3 separate regions of the Homo sapiens genome follow, and regions 1 and 3 are each linked to region 2. The links are contacts of gene promoters, found by promoter capture Hi-C in human tissues and cell types (Jung and others, 2019). All regions are on one chromosome and are shown on one strand. The core of a region is centred on a gene start or on the middle of the fragment in contact, and the rest is flanking DNA. Distances in the headings are between cores, read along the strand shown. Region 1 has its middle 6.2 kb from the start of ARFGAP1. Region 2 holds the start of GID8 (GID complex subunit 8 homolog). Region 3 holds the start of SLCO4A1-AS1 (SLCO4A1 antisense RNA 1).

The links. Contacts are between HindIII fragments. The study calls those that stand out against the background at their distance.
Region 1: a fragment that was not itself captured here is called in contact with the fragment with the promoter of GID8 in region 2 in 1 of the 25 tissues and cell types used here (spleen).
Region 3: a fragment that was not itself captured here is called in contact with the fragment with the promoter of GID8 in region 2 in 1 of the 25 tissues and cell types used here (spleen).

Annotation. Positions count from the first base shown.
Region 1 is chr20:63,264,992-63,268,253 of GRCh38, forward strand. No RefSeq gene overlaps it. Among named protein-coding and RNA genes, the nearest start is that of ARFGAP1, 6.2 kb to the right of the region's middle. The HindIII fragment of the contact is 7,334 bases long and covers 1-3,262 here.
Region 2 is chr20:62,936,490-62,939,729 of GRCh38, forward strand. GID8 (GID complex subunit 8 homolog) reads left to right here and starts at 1,658. Exons shown (of 5, transcript NM_017896.3): 1 at 1,658-1,764. It also overlaps a transcript of DIDO1 not described here. RefSeq lists silencers at 859-908, 1,179-1,228, 1,599-1,828, 1,899-2,028 and an enhancer at 1,724-2,392. The HindIII fragment of the contact is 10,021 bases long and covers 1-3,240 here.
Region 3 is chr20:62,663,508-62,666,945 of GRCh38, forward strand. It overlaps SLCO4A1 (solute carrier organic anion transporter family member 4A1), which reads left to right. Exons shown (of 12, transcript NM_016354.4): 6 at 1,427-1,581; 7 at 2,873-3,068. It overlaps SLCO4A1-AS1 (SLCO4A1 antisense RNA 1), which reads right to left and starts at 3,114. Exons shown (of 4, transcript NR_024470.1): 1 at 2,878-3,114; 2 at 2,353-2,503; 3 at 1,417-1,990. The HindIII fragment of the contact is 7,352 bases long and covers 1-3,438 here.

The DNA of each region.
Region 1 (3,262 bases), core at 732-3,231, 330 kb after region 2:
ACTTGAATTTCACTTTGTAATGTACTTAAGGTTGTTTTAATATTGAAACAATGTTATTTTTAGTTTATTTTTCTAGATGAAGTCTCACTCTGTCGCCCAGGCTGGAGTACATTGGTGCGATCTCGATCTTGGCTCACTGCAACCTCCACCTCCCCGGTTCAAGCAACTCTCCTGCCTCAGCCTCCTGAGTACCTGGGATTATGGGTACCCACCACCATGCCTAGCTAATTTTTGTTTTTTTGGTAGAGACAGTGTCTTATCATGTTGGCCAAGCTGGTCTCGAACTCCTGACCTCAGGTGATCTCCCTGCCTCGGCCTCCCAAAGTGCTGGGATTGCAGGTGTGAGCCACGGCACCCAGCCTGAAACAACATTTTAAACTGCTAATCAGGCCTACAGTTTATATGCCTCTGCACAAGCCCTGCCCCCCTTTCCTGGGCAGGGGTGGGGTGGGGAGATGTCTCAGTGCCCCCATAGCCCAGTCCTTTCTCTCCCCCCACCCTCCCTGCCCCGACCCTCACACTGCCCCGTCCTGCAGGAGAGAGGCATCCCAGTTTGGGAAGCTGGTAATGCCCACCACTCGGTCACCAGTGTTGGTACCGCTCTGGCTGTCGGCAACTGGCTGGGCCTGGGGACACATGGGAACAACTCCGATCACACAGGAAGAGTTTCCCGGTCCCTCGGGACCATGGAAGCCCAGCCACACAGCACCGGTTTGAGGCAAGGCTCTCAATACCTCGCCCTCCGTGCCCAACACCTTGGTCTTCTGCTAGGGGTCCTCACAGTCTGGGGAAACTGAGTCCACATGGGCCTCAGGGCTGGAGCTTGGAGCCCAGGGCACCCAGTCAGCACATTCTATCCTCCTGGCCGGTGATTGTTTGGAAGTGGACACATGACCCCAGCTAGGCCCATCAGGGTGGAGCGTGAGCTTTCAGCTGGGATGCCGGTGCAAGGCTACTTTCTCTTGCTGGAGGCGAATCATGAAGCTTGCAGCCTTAGAAGCTGCCAGAAGCATCCTGGGGTCTCAGGATGAAGACGGAACTGCAAACATACACAGAGAATCCTGGTTCTCAGCAATAGTGCTGAGCTGCTGGATCAAGCCACACCTGAAATTGAACTTTGTTCTAGAATTTTCATCACACAAATCAATACATTCCCTTTGCTAAGCCATTTGGGGTTGAGATTTTTGCCTCTAGCAACTAGAATCTGGAAAGATTCCTGGCTAAGATACGCATGGGAGGGTCCAAAGCAGGAGGACCCTGCGGGTCCAGCTGTCACAGCCCCAGGATCTGAGCTACCAGTTCTGCAATCTGAGAAGCTGGCCTGGTCTCAGCACATTCTTAGCTGTGACTCCTTAGCCGCTGTGGCCACACGTAATTCAGCACAGCTGCAAGTTTCTTGGAGCTCAGGACAGAGCGGCTCAGCATTTTCGAGGAACATTTGTACTTCTGGGTGACTTACACACCCTGACATTCTTCCCATTTCCTTCTGTCCTGGGCCCCAGTTCTTCTGGACGCCACGCACAGGCAGCAGAAGTGGGGGCAGACGGGGCTGGAACCAGCCAGGTGGAGTCCCACCATGCAGCAGGCCAGAAGCCAGGACCAAGGCAGCACCGTCGTGGGCAGCCCCGGGCCAACCCCACGCGCTTCTCTCCAGGACCCAGGCGGCACCGTCGTGGGCAGCCCCGCACTAACCCCACGCGCTTCTCTCCAGGACCCAGGCGGCACCGTCGTGGGCAGCCCCGGGCCAACCCCACGCGCTTCTCTCCAGGACCCAGGCGGCACCGTCGTGGGCAGCCCCGGGCCAACCCCACGCGCTTCTCTCCAGGACCCAGGCGGCACCGTCGTGGGCAGCCCCGGGCCAACCCCACGCGCTTCTCTCCAGGACCCAGGCGGCACCGTCGTGGGCAGCCCCGGGCCAACCCCACGCGCTTCTCTCCAGGACCCAGGCGGCACCGTCGTGGGCAGCCCCGGGCCAACCTCACGTGCTTCTCTCCAGATACAGGACAAAGCTGTTTCAGAAGGACCTGGTGGTGGAAGATGATCAACAGGAGACAAAAATGGGCAGAGAAAAACACAGGCATCCACAGGACACACCATGGCCAGGCCGTGTTTGCTTGGCCTCACCACCATTAAGATGAGAAAATTAAACAGCGATGGCGACGCGTGTGCTTAGAGCCCGGCGGAGACAGCCCCCTTGGTAATGGCAGCCAGGGAGGGGACGCAAGGAACAGGCACACTCCCATCAGCGCATCTGGCACAGGGGTTTGGAGGACAATTTGGTGGAATCTCCCAGAACTTACCTGGCACTTCCACCTCTAGAGGTCTATGTTGTGGAAATACTCGCACAAACAGAGAGAGGTCACCGCACAAAGATGTCCAGTGCAACATCGAAGGTAAAACAAAGTAATGATGATTGTGACAGGAGAGTCCTGTCTTCCAATCAGAGGCCAGTTAGAGAACGTAAGAGACCTCAGTGGTTAAGATGAACAAGCCTCTGCTATAGAGGGGACGCAAGAAAGCCACCAATCAAGGTGTGAGTAGCAGGGAAGCCCAGGCCGTGTGCCTGTTTATGCAGAAGACAAGATCTGGGCAGGTCCACCCCAAACTGCTGGCCGTGCTCCCTCTGGAGGTCCTGCCCAGGACCAAAGGGGCTTTCAAGCCTCCAAGGGGCACCCCCATGGTGCCCTGGGGTTGTAGAATGCCTCCTTCCTGAAAGCCCCACCTGCGAGTCAGCTCCCCTGCCTCACTTCTTCCCCCCGTCACCGCTCAAGCTGGCTGTGACTGTGGTGGCAATGCAGGACCCAGCAGTTGAGCTACAGGAATTTCCCTGGAGCTGCCTCTGTGTGAGCCCTGGCCGGACACACCAAGAGACAGGGAGAGGGCGAGGGGATGAGCCAACCCTCCAGCAACTCCCAGACAACGGGGCAGGGCAGGGCCAGGGGAATGACCAGAATTCTCTCAAGTGGAGGGTGCAGAGGGCGTGGGTGAGTGAGCAGGGGCTGGAGGCCCCCAGCAGCTGCACGAGAGGGCGGGGCAGAGACAAGACCAGAACCCAAGTTCCTAGGAGGCCTGGAATGATGAGTTTATTCCTGGGATTTTATTCCTAGGATGATGGTGCTGAGCGAGGTCTGGGCAGAAAGAAGGAACTTCTGGGCAGGAGAACTTCAGGGGACTCTACCATGAAGTGTGGAGCGCTGAGCAGGGAACAGCCTGAGCATGGAGCAGCCCAGCGAGTGTGGGGCTTTCTGGCTTTGGCTCAAGG
Region 2 (3,240 bases), core at 408-2,907:
GGTTGCAGTGAGTCGAGATCATGACAGTGCACTCCAGCCTGGGCAACAAAGTGAGACTCCTTCTCAAAAAATAGAATAAAATAAAATCAAAATAGGCCGGGAGCGGTGGCTCACGCCTGTAATCCCAGCACTTTGGGAGTCCGAGGCGGGCGGATCACGAGGTCAAGACACTGAGACCAGCCTGACCAACAAGGGGAAACCCCGTCTCTACTAAAAATACAAAAATTAGCTGGGCGTGGTGGTGCGCCCCTGTGGTCCCAGCTACTCGGGAGGCTGAGGCAGGAGAATCGCTTGAACCCGGGAGGCGGAGGTTGCAGTGAGCCGAGATGGCGCCACTGCGCTCCAGCCTGGGCGAGAGTGAGACTTCGTCTCAAAATAAATAACTAAATAAAGACCAATAACTGTTTCCCATAGGGTTATGTAGTTGCAAATGAAAAAATTACTGGCATGTACTGCCTCTGCATATGAAGCATAATTTTGTCAAGACCTTATACCTGCAGATTTAGCTCTTTCGATTAACGGAAAATGTCCAAAATCAGTCTCCTCCAACCTATTTGCCGAACTGGACTTACTGTCGCTGAGTAGACCGACCGACATAGCTTACACGTTGTTCAGCTCGCTTGTAAGCAAACACACGAAACCACCTCACCCCTGACTTCAGAAAGAAGCCGTCCCGTGAATTCCTCACAGATGAAATCAGGAGCTGCCCCTCAAGGACTCTATTTCTTCCTTCGGCTCTATCAAATATTTTAAGGTACTTCCCAGCAACGGAAACATGGGACCCTGCAATGACAGACTTCGCATTCCTCCTGAGCGGACAGGCAATAAGCAAGTAAACGCGCAAATACCCAAGTGCGGCCTCAACCCGCGCTCCTGCCGGGAGGGTCTCCAGTCACCGAGTAACCCCGGCCCTGCCCCGCGCCGCCGCCGGGACTCCGCCCCGCAAGCAAGTGGGGTCTCCTTTGTCCCGCGCGCCCTGGCCGCGTCCCGCCCTTCGGCGTAGCCCATGGGAGGCGCCCTGAGGGCAGGGCCCTTCTGATTCCCCACCTGGCCTCGAGTGAGGACGCGCTCAACAACATCTCGAGTAAAGCGGGGGAACTCGCTTCAACGCGCAGACAGCACAGCTCTCGCCCAGCCCGGTCTCGGGTCAGCCGTCTCTCCCTGGACCTCAGGGACACTAGCCCTGGAAGGCCGCCGGTCGGGAGGGGACTCCCTCCCCGTCTGAGGGGCGGCCGCGGACACCCGGCGCCTTTCCCCCGCCCCACCCCGTGCGGCCTCACGCAAACGACAGGAAAAAAGCTGGGACCTTCGCCTCCGACTCAGTGTAGACGTCGCCATCCCGGTTCCAGATTTCCGCGCTCCAACGCCTCCGCAGCAGCCATCTTGCCAGAGGGCCGACGCCTTTTGACTCTGGCGCCAACCCGTAGTGCGTGGTCGCCGCGAGGGGAGTTCTGCGCAAGTACGGAAGCTGAGGTTCCGCGCTTCCGGGAGGCCGTCCGCCCCGCCCCCTCGCGGGGGCGCTTCATTGGTCATCGGCTCGCGCTCTCGCGCTCTCTTGCTGTCGCGAGAGGTGCTGAGGGGCGGCCTCCGGTGCGCCTGCCCTCCCGCTCCCCGCCCCCGCCCCCGCCCCCGCCTCCGCCGCGGCCCCCACCTCTGCCTCCTTCTACTCGGGCGCCCCGGCGGCCGCCACCTCTCCCCAGCCCAGGAGAGGCTGCGGAGCCGCAGCCGCCCAGACCGCGCAGCGCGGGAGGCAGGTTCCGCACGGTAAGATGGCGGCGGCGGGCCCGGGCGGCCGGGCCGAGCGTCTCCCGGGGCCGGGCCGGGCGGGCAGGCGGGATGTGGCCGGGGTGCGCGCCGCCCCCGCTCTGGGGGCCTTGGAAGCGCCGGCGCTGGCAGGTGCGGAATTGGGGCGCGCAGTGAGTCCAGGCCCGGACGGCCGCCCCGCGCCGGTGCCCAGGGGGCAGTCAGGGCTCAGCCTCCAGGCGCGCGGCCTCAGGCGCTGGTGTTCTGGGGCGGTCCCGGCCAGCCTGAGGGGCGGCGGTAGCTGTCTCTGTGGAGGAGCGACGTCCGTAACGAAGTCTTTTTAATAAAATCTGCTGCTTTAAAGCAGAAACCGAGCGGGTGAGGATGTAAAGTGTGGCATGGAAAGTAGGAGTCTTCAGCACACGGGTGTTTTCTTCTGCTGAATCTTTTTATGCTGGAGTTTGAGACTACCGAGTTCTTCCTGCTAACAGGACTGGCCAGTTCTACAAAGTTGTTGCTTTTCATGGGCGCACGTAACTGCCCGGAGTGGAAGCGCTGTGAGTGCCGATCACCGAATGGGCCGAGAGAAAAGGTGCCTTTTCCTAGGGAGCTCTTAACGTTGGTCCTAGGGCCGGGCGCGGTGGCGGAGGTCGAAGTGGGCGGATCACTTGAGCCCGCGAGTTCGAGACCAGCCGTGGCAACAGCGAGACTCCCTTCTCTGCTAAAAATAAAAAAATTAGCCAGGCAGAGTGGTGCGCTCCTGTTGTCCCAGTTACTCTGGAGGCTGAGGTGGGAGGATCGCTTGAGCCCAGGAGGTCGAGGCTGCGGTGAGCCATGATCGCGCCACTGCCCTCCAGCCTGGGCGACAGAGCGAGGCTCTGTCTCAAAAAAAAAAGAAAAAGAAAATGAGTCCTTAAGTTACCATTAATTGTCGTGAATAAAAAGTTGGTCTCAGTGAGTTTTGCAGTTGACAACGAAAGATGGGTGTTCGTGTGTGACAGCGACTCCTGGTTTCTCCTCCACTTTACCTGCCGCTCCACATCAAGTTTTCTTCTGCTGGTGCCACTTTCTCTGCTTTACCTTCAAGGTTGGCATCCTCCAAGTAATGGCGATTCTCATTCCCTATCTACGCTCTTCCTATGGTCTTTGCTGAATTCTTGGCTTTAAATATCCCTGTGCCCCAGCACCGCCCCCCCCGCCCCTTATTTCACTAATTCATGTTTTCAGCTCTGAGCTCAGGATCTGTAATTCAGACACCTGCTTGATTTCTCCAGACGCATGTCTAATAGTCACGTCAAACTTGCCCTGCTTCTCAAACCTGTTCTTCTTCCAGTCCTTCCTCCTTATTTGTGGCCCCATCTTGCAGGGCCTCTCATGCTTGAAACCTGTGACCATCTTCTATTCTTCCCTCTCTTTTGTCCGGTAATCTGTCTAGCAGCAGCCATTGACTCTGGCCAAAGCATCTTGATCTCACCTTGCTCTCCATCTCTTCTGCCG
Region 3 (3,438 bases), core at 80-2,579, 270 kb before region 2:
ACATGGACATGTCATTTATTGTGAAAATTTGCATTACTGTGGGCTGATGTGAGAGGCTATTGTGCCATGACCTGGGGCTTCAGGAACAGTCTCTGCCCCTGGTCTATGTTATGAGTTCCAGGGACAGGACAATAGCTGTGTCTGCAAACACCCCCACCTGAGGCCGAGAGCCCCCCACTCAGTGGGGGAGAAGGGTCACGCACAGGAGCGTGCTGTGAACAGGATGCAGGCAGCTGTGAGCTGGGATGAATGTGAGCTTTGCCCAGTCTGGGTGATCTGTGTACCCCAGAGAGAGCCGAGCCTCTCTTTGCAGAGGCGGTTTCCCTTCTGTCTGCCTCGATCACTGCACTGGCTGGGAGGGCTTTGCGTGGTTTACACCATGCAACACGTTTTCCATCTCAGCATCTTATGCGCTTAAGCAGCGGTTGGGCGTTAGCCCTGCTCAGGCCTCCAATGCTAACAAAAACAGGGAGAGCCTCCATTCACCCCCCAGGGCCTCGTGTGCAGGGACAGGCAGCCCCGACGCACTGCTGTCGGCCACCTCCTGGGTTAGAAACTGCAAGGCCTGATGTGGGGCCTTCCCAGCTTCCAGGGGGCTATGTCCTTATCCTGAGACCCCACAGCCAGGACCGCAACAGGCAGATGTGGAGGCTGAGGCTGAGCCCTCAGGGCCAGACGGCTCAGAGTTCCCACAGTTCCCCCCAGGGCTCCAGGCCCATGCACCAAGGACTCGCCCCAGTTGAGGCCTCACCACCCCCAGGGCCACTGGCCCCCAAGTGCAAACCAAGCTAGCCAGGTCCGTCTACCCAGGGGCTTCTTGCATGGAGGGTTCGAATCCCAGTGGCTTCCTGCCCCACTTCTCCCAGGGGCTGGCGGTTGGGGACTGGCCACAGTCCCCATTCCCGTGATTCCATTCCCCTATCCCAGGGCCTGTCCGGTCCTGGACTTGGTGGCCTCTGCCTGCCCCAGCCAGTTCCCTTTTTCAGGCCCTGCTGCTGGCCAGTGACGGAACAGGGTCCTGGGTCACTTGGGGTCTCTCCCCACCTGAGCTGAAGCTCTGGCCAAGGCACTGATAAGGTTTTTCCCTAATCAGGGACTGCAGCTTTCAGGACAAGTGGGCCACAGGCATAGGCTCAGCCTGGCGCCCCCTGGGTTTCTCTGGAATAAGTGTGGGTGTCCCCCACCTGCCTGCACCCCACTCTACTCCCTGTCGGAACAGGGGCCCTTTGTAATCAGACCGGGGAGCTGACAGCCTCAGGAACAGCAGGTTCCTCCCACCCTGGGTCTGGCCCACTCTGACCCTCAGTCTCTTCTCCACACCCCGACCTCTGCCCACCACTCTGACCCTCAGTCTCTTCTCCACACCCCGACCTCTGCCCACCACTCTGACCCTCAGTCTCTTCTCCACACCCCCACCTCTGCCCAGCTCCATCTGGCTCCTGCTGAAGAACCCCACGTTCATCCTGCTCTGCCTGGCCGGGGCCACCGAGGCCACTCTCATCACCGGCATGTCCACGTTCAGCCCCAAGTTCTTGGAGTCCCAGTTCAGCCTGAGTGCCTCAGAAGCTGCCACCTTGTTTGGTGAGAAAACTGAATCTTGGGGGTCCTCTGCTTTTATGTCAGTTCTCAGAAACAGAGTCTTCAAGGGCATCTTCTAGAAAGACCCAGACAGGGCACATGGCAGTGAGTGCCCTCCCACCCCCGCTGCCAGAGCAGGTGTGGAGAGCGCCACGGGGGCTGAGCGACTCTGTCCACAGGCCGGGAGAGTGGTGGTCCTGCCCTCTTTGTGGGACATGCTCCGTAGGTGGAAGGGTCCACGGTGGGCTCCACCCCCTAGCCACCTAGTCTTGGCTTCTGTGACTTGGTGCAGGAAGGGTTTGGACCTGGCTGTTCCATGAGCCAGGCACTGGTGCCTCAGGACCTCCTGGAACAGTGCAGCTGGGGGTTTCTCGGTGCCAGAGGCAGGCTGGCCTTCCCAGGCTGGGCAGGTCTGCAGAAAGTGGGGACCCCTCCTCAGAGCTGCTCCTCCTGCCAGCGTTCACAGAGTACCCTGGGCCATGGCAGAGGTGCCAGGCATGTGGGCCACCACCGCCAATCTACCGCGCTCTACCCTTCCAGGGTCCACTATCTGGACAGGAAGAGGGCATCAGATGAGGGCTCCCCTCCCTCCCCCACAGGCCCATCCTGGCCTGGCCCCTCTGGGCTGACCTCACAAGCCCACATTCCCACACTCAACAGCCCCCCAGAGGTCAGCTCTACTGCCCCTTGGAGAGCCTCCCCACCTGTCCCCCCAAATCTGTCCCCTCCCCACCTGTCCCCCCAAACCTGTCCCCTCTCCACCTGTCCCCTCACCTGTGCCCTCCTCACTTGTCAGCCCAGAAGCTAGATGCCAGCTAATCGCAATTTTTTACTGTTGGTGGCCACTCAGGCTTCGACAAATGTCCTTGTCACAGCCTGCAGGGACTCGGCAGAGGCCCCTGGGGGAGGAGGGGGTGTGGCTGCCCTGGAGGGGGGTCAGTGGAGGAGTCATTGGCTTCCCACTGGGGCAGGGGCCGCTGACCTTGGAGCACTCTGGGCTCTCCTCCTCCCCCCGCCCCGCCCCGCCCCCCCGCTCCCCCTTCCCCTTCCCCTTCCCCTTCCCCTTCCCCTCTGAGGCATCCCCGCTGTGGGCTCTGGACAGAGGTCCCTCCTAGGGCTCTATCAGCGCAACAGCTAAGCACTCAGGTGTGGTGTTGAGTGCTGCCATGCAGGCAGGAATTGATCCCTCTATGCCTCAGTTTCCCCACCTGTAAAGTGGACCCGGCTGATCCACCACCCTCTCCCACCACGGCCCCCTGCCTGAGTCCCTGGCTGAATCCCTCCCTCTCCCCAGGGTACCTGGTGGTGCCAGCGGGTGGTGGCGGCACCTTCCTGGGCGGCTTCTTTGTGAACAAGCTCAGGCTCCGGGGCTCCGCGGTCATCAAGTTCTGCCTGTTCTGCACCGTTGTCAGCCTGCTGGGCATCCTCGTCTTCTCACTGCACTGCCCCAGTGTGCCCATGGCGGGCGTCACAGCCAGCTACGGCGGGAGGTGAGGGCCAGATGGCACCTGGGTACGCGTCGGGGCCCCAAGCACCCGCGGTCCCTGGGCATGGAGGAGGAGTGGTGCAGCACTTGGGAGAGGTGGTTTTGAAAAGGGCTACGTCACAGGACAGCGGCAAGGGCAACACCCGCTCAGCAGGGCACCCGGCAGCATCCACGTGAAAAGGCACCATGCCAGCCCCCAGCAGTGCCTGCGCTTGGGTCCCGGCTGTGCCCCCGGGCAGTCATATGCCTCTCTGGGCCTCAGCACTCTGCTCTGTAGCTGTGTCAAATGGAACAACAGCCCTAGTGTTCGGGGTCCTTGAGGCTGGTCTCTCGGTGACATAAAAAGTGTCCCAGGATGTGCTCCTGGAGTTGCC